2 separate regions of the Homo sapiens genome follow, and region 1 is linked to region 2. Evidence: promoter capture Hi-C in 16 types of primary human blood cells and fetal thymus (Javierre and others, 2016). All regions are on one chromosome and are shown on one strand. The core of a region is centred on a gene start or on the middle of the fragment in contact, and the rest is flanking DNA. Distances in the headings are between cores, read along the strand shown. Region 1 overlaps DCUN1D4 (defective in cullin neddylation 1 domain containing 4). Region 2 holds the start of SPATA18 (spermatogenesis associated 18).

Region 1 (2,700 bases), core at 124-2,623, 150 kb before region 2:
TTGGTATTGTGTTTATATTACTGCCTCTATTAAAAAAATAAATAAATGAACTCAGGTCATAATTTGCCTTTATTCTGTTTTTCTAGATGTGATACAACAGAAAAACTCAGAAATACTTTGGATTACTTAAGATCATTCTTAAATGATTCTACAAACTTTAAACTTATTTACAGATATGCGTTTGACTTTGCACGGGTGAGTTCTCTGGAGCCTATCCAGATGTTTCCCTCTCTTCCCTCCCCTTTTTAAATTGCCTTTTGAGGTTAGTTTTTACATGCCACAGCAAAAAAACTTGAATAAGTTAACTCCCAGGATGCTAGTTAGTATTTCTTTCTACATGTATGCTTTTGAAAACTAAGTTTGATTCTGGTCAAACATTCTGTAGGTCAGCAAAAAGCTCTAGTGGCAGACGTTTACTGGCTCTTGGAATTGGCTTAAAAGTGACATGGGCATGCAATACACACTGTCTTAAATGTCTCTTAGATAAGGTTGGAAAAGCTTTCCTTCTCACAGAACAACAAACCTTCTCCTGTTGAGTTTACTAGAATAAGCTAATCATATCTAATTCAGATTCACCGTGGGTGCTATTATTGTATTTGGAAATCATGTGAATTTTAGACGTAAGCTAATTTCTTACATTACTTAATGTAATACATTACTTAAATGTATTTTTCTAATCATCGTTTTGAAAAGCAGTTACCCTATTTGTCACATAGTGAGTCAAGTCGAAGTATGTGAAAGTGGTTCCCTTGGAGTGAAATAAAAATCTTACTTTTCAGCCTAGTCACCATACATAGAGAATTTTGAAGCACCAGTTGGCATCATACTCAATTCAAACAAAATCTATATCCCATACAATTACAATTTATTCTGAAATGATGTTTTCTGTTAGGTCTGTTTGTTTAGTGGATTCAGGTGACTAGGCTTTCTTGTTTGATTGCACTTTTTTAAATTATTTTTTTTTAAGGCAGAGAACTCGGTGACAATTTATTCTTTTTTCCTTACCACCATATTGATTTTTTTCACTTTTTACTCTCTTTGGCTCTGCCAGTTCAGCACCAAAGGTTTATTTGATGGTGAATTTTGATGCATCTTGCAATAACGTTCTCTGTGGTGCCCTCATTCATGCATTTTCCTATTATTACAACCTTCTAGTTAAATCACACCATGCATAGAAATTTATTGATGTTAAAAACGATAAGGTGAAATTCAGATACAGTGTTTGATAAAATGGCATTTGCATAATAATATATAAAAGTTACCTGCCAGGCCAGATGCAGTGGCTCATACCTGTAACCCCAGCACTTTAGGAGGCTGAGGCAGAAAGATCACTTAAAGCCAGAAGTTTGAGACCAGCCTGGGTAACATACCCTGTCTCTATACAAAACAAATAAAAAAATTTAAAAATTAGCCAGATATGGTGCCTATAGTTCTAGCTACTCAGGAGGCTGAGGTAAGAGGATTGCTTAAGAACAGGAGTTCGAGGTTAAAAAAAGAAAAAGGAAGTTATTTGCCAGATGCTTTTTTTTGCTAGATGCTTTTAGAATAGTTGACTGGTTTCTAGGATTATATAGTTTATTTCATGAGTTTTTTTTTTCCTCCCAAAGTCAGCTGTTTCTTATAGTATGGGTAGAAATTCATTTAGAAACATCATACCTTCTCTACCCAAATCAGCTCTATTTTCTAACTTCCTTGACTGGGGGAGTCACAGTTCTCCCAGATATCCAATGTGCTTTAGATCTAGGTTCTGCTTTACTCCTCCCTGGCTAACGTCCTGTTCTGGGGCAGTCACCCTGGCACATCTCATGAGTGCTCTTTGGCCACCTTTTTCTTGGTGCCTCCACTGCAGCCTCACCGGTGGAGGCCTTGCTTCTCCTTACCAGCCCTCTTCTGGTAGCCTCATGTCCACATTCTTTCACTTCTTACCCTGTGCTCACATCACTAGGGTGTCATTCGTCTTCCTTCAGCCCCTGGGTCACTCAGCCACCTTCCTGCTCCCCACAGCCTCTAGTACCTCCCCACTGTGTTTATATCGACCCAGCACTTCCCTGTGTATACGACACAGTTGTTCCCATGTCAGCTCTGAGGGACAGCCGGGGTGGTTTCAGTCCACTTTACAGAGTAAGAAAGTGCGCTTCAGCAAAGGGGAGAAATGGCCACGTTGTTCATAGTAGATCCATGACTCAAACCTAGGCCTTCTGTCTCCAAGTCTAGTATGTGGGTTACTCCAGACCCTCACAACTAAGTCCCAAGCTTCCCCACTCAACGCCTGCATTATGATGAAATTGCACTAACGGTTGCTCACTGGCCCTGCTTCCTGGCCTCTCTGCATTCTGCCTTTGGGAGTGCTGGGCCCTTGCCTAGAGCCCCGTTTGCATTAGCACAGTTGTACCCATCCAGGCCCTGGGTCTGAGCCATGTGCTTCTGCTTCGACACAGCCTCCTGGTCAGCCTGTCAGGGATCAGCCTGTCGGGGTGGGATTGTGCTGGTTTCAGTTACATACCCCTGGTGTCTCCTCTACTTGGCTTTGGAGTTTGAGTACAGGCCTTAATTTTTCCTGGCAGATTGAGGGACTCTGTAATTTCTTTCTTTGTACATCCTTTGTTTTAAAGGAGAGTCTCAATTAATATTGGTGAATTAAGCCCTTTCACATAACAATAAATAAAAACAACCATATTTAATCATTGCTTAATTACCGGA
Region 2 (2,700 bases), core at 107-2,606:
ACATTCTTAATAATAGCAAATGTAGGCCAGTATTAGTTTATATTTAATAAACAGCAATTACTAGAGCAATTGCTACTGCATTTTGCCAAGCATTGTACTAAATACATGAATTATCTTACTAAGTTTCATAATAATCCTATGAGAGAATTATTTTCCTTTTACAGATGATGAAACCAAGGATTACAGGCTAATTAAGGTGCTCACAGCAAGGAAAAATCCTTTACCTCTAATTTATCTGACATAAATGTTCCAATATGGGTTTTTATGAATAAGTAAATGGGACTGTTCAAAGATTCCAAATGCCTGTAGAAATATGTAATTATTAGGTCCAAATTGAGAAATTTGAAGTTTTTCTCAATTCATTTTACATATATATATATATATATATATATATATATATGAAGTTGTTTAATGAATATTTAGCTGTTTTGTTGAGTGGGTATTTTTAACATTAGAAATTATTATTCTACTCCAATCAAATAACATGTTATACCCCTATAGTCCTTATTTTGTGGTCTACAGAAAATAGTAGGAACACAGGCTCCAAAACTGAGCCTTTCATTTTCATTAGCAGATAGTAAAGCCACTGTAATCAAGAGAAATAAAAAATGAGAGGTGGTGAAAATTCTTGATTTTACAATACTTGAATATATGCAGTGTTCACAGATTTTCAAGTACCTACAGAGATGAAACTAAGTTAAACTAGCTAGCTAACCAGCTGAGGCTCTGCTCCCCACCGCTGTTTTAATGAATGGATAGGAATGATTTATAATCAGCACATTTTTTGATGGTATATAAAAGAGCTTGCTTCGAAAGCGCTTAAAGATGGTCGAAATGGTTTCCTAAGTAGTTGAACCTGTTTCTGTAGCAGAATACACACTTTTGAAATAGTGCCAAACTAGGTCAAGAAAGTCCCAATTAGAGAATTCAGAATTAAATGAAGCTTTAGAGTGCTCAATGACTCTAAAAAAAAAAGTACTAAAATACATACTGCCAAATCTTATCCAAACCTGAGGGATTAACTTTAATTTGTGAACATCCTGGAGCTAAACTCTATTAACTTGGGTACCCACCCAGTGGGTCAAGGAACAAAGTAAAAGCTAGAAGTAAGAAGTACTGAAATTTTAGTTACAAGTTTCATACAGGTAAACCCAAGGCGCTACAAATGAAGAATTAAAGGAATGAAAGGCGAAAGAATAAAGGGGCCAAAGAGGTGATCTCCTGAGAGCCTAGCCCCAAACTTCTATAGAGACTTAACTTCTGCTTTTCTGGACACGCGTGGGCACCCAGAACCCCGAATGGGGAGGAATGCTGTAGACGCCCTGCTGCCCTCCAGCCCGCGCGGCTGCGCGTCTCAGTCCACCCCTGGGGCGCGCGGCTGTCACCCAGGGCGGGGCGGCGCGGGCGTTGCCACGACGCGGGCCGCGCGCGTCCCTGGCAGCCAACCCGTCCACGTCAAGGTTTGTTTAATAATCGCCAGGGTATCTATGGCCGGGCTCAGGCGGCTGCTGGGGAGCCAGGAGACCGCGCGGGACGGCGGATGAGGCGCGGCGGCTGCGGCCCAGGGCACCTCCCCTCTGGCTTCCCGAACCCGGCCAGGTCCGACCCGAGGGGGAGGATGGAAACACCTGCCGCGCTCTGAGCCCCCCAGAAGAGAACACCCTTCCCGCCATATCACCCCACGGTCCTGCGGAGGCCACCGCCTGGTCCCCCCAAGTCTCCATCGCGCAGCGTGGGGCCGAGAGGAATAGTGAGCGATGGCGGAAAACCTGAAAAGACTGGTCTCAAACGAAACTTTACGAACGTTGCAGGAAAAGCTAGACTTCTGGCTGAAGGAGTACAACGTGAGTCTGGGTGAAAAACCCCCGGGGTTCGCCCTCCCATAGGTTCCAGCACAGCCCTTGTCGGGGATTTCTTAGGGCTGGAGTTGGTGGCCACTTTGCAAAGCCTCCGCGGTTGCGATTCCTAACCAGGATCTCAGCTTTCGACCGGGATCGCTGGGGAAGGAAGGACATGTGTGTACATGCCCTTGTCTCAGAGCTTCGGGAGGCGGCGCGCAGGCGGCCTGCGGAGCGCAGCACTAGGCTGCGGAGACTGGAGAGTGCTTCCAATCAGTGGTAACTAAGGACGCCGGCGACCTAGCAATAGGGAAGCCCTGCTGTCCGCGGCTGGTCTGGTCATGCCTGCCACTCTTTCCCATCCCCCTTGCCAGCGCAATCCACACCGCCTGCTTCCCCAATCCCGAATTATTTTTTACTACAACCCTCTCCTGCCCAGGGTTTGTATCAGAATGGATTTGTATAAACACACACCCAGGAGTTATTTACCCAGAAATCAGCGAAACGGACACTTGTTAACGTTGCGGGTTTCACTTGCGTGCTGGTGGGCCTGGAAATTGAGGCACAGTTCCAACACCAGGGCGGATTCAGGCCTTTTTCCAGGCATTTGTGAGAAGCCAGTATTCTGTCACCAAACCCATGAGCACTTTTCAAATCTCATTAATCCCTACTCGCACCCTGCCTCCCCATAATTCCCCCCTTCCCCCAAATAGAACGGTGAGTGTTGAATTTGCTTTACATTCGGTCGGTCCGTCTTAAATAGGGATTTCCCCTCTTACATAATAAGTGGAGCGGCCAGGCAAAAGAACTGTGGACCGGAAATTAGCCCCCCCTTGTTTCTACATTTGGCTCTGCATAGAAC

What was found. Contacts are between HindIII fragments. The CHiCAGO score rates a contact against its expected background, and 5 or more counts as called.
Region 1: a fragment that was not itself captured here is called in contact with the fragment with the promoter of SPATA18 in region 2 in 1 of 17 cell types (monocytes); the score reaches 7.8 in monocytes.

Annotation. Positions count from the first base shown.
Region 1 is chr4:51,899,184-51,901,883 of GRCh38, forward strand. DCUN1D4 (defective in cullin neddylation 1 domain containing 4) reads left to right here. Exons shown (of 11, transcript NM_001040402.3): 8 at 87-195. Among named protein-coding and RNA genes, the nearest start is that of DCUN1D4, 57 kb to the left of the region's middle. The HindIII fragment of the contact is 1,755 bases long and covers 497-2,251 here.
Region 2 is chr4:52,049,948-52,052,647 of GRCh38, forward strand. It overlaps SPATA18 (spermatogenesis associated 18), which reads left to right and starts at 1,357. Exons shown (of 13, transcript NM_145263.4): 1 at 1,357-1,844. The coding sequence starts at 1,758. RefSeq lists enhancers at 1,006-1,507, 1,508-2,007, 1,800-2,149 and a silencer at 1,330-1,629. The HindIII fragment of the contact is 3,697 bases long and covers 942-2,700 here.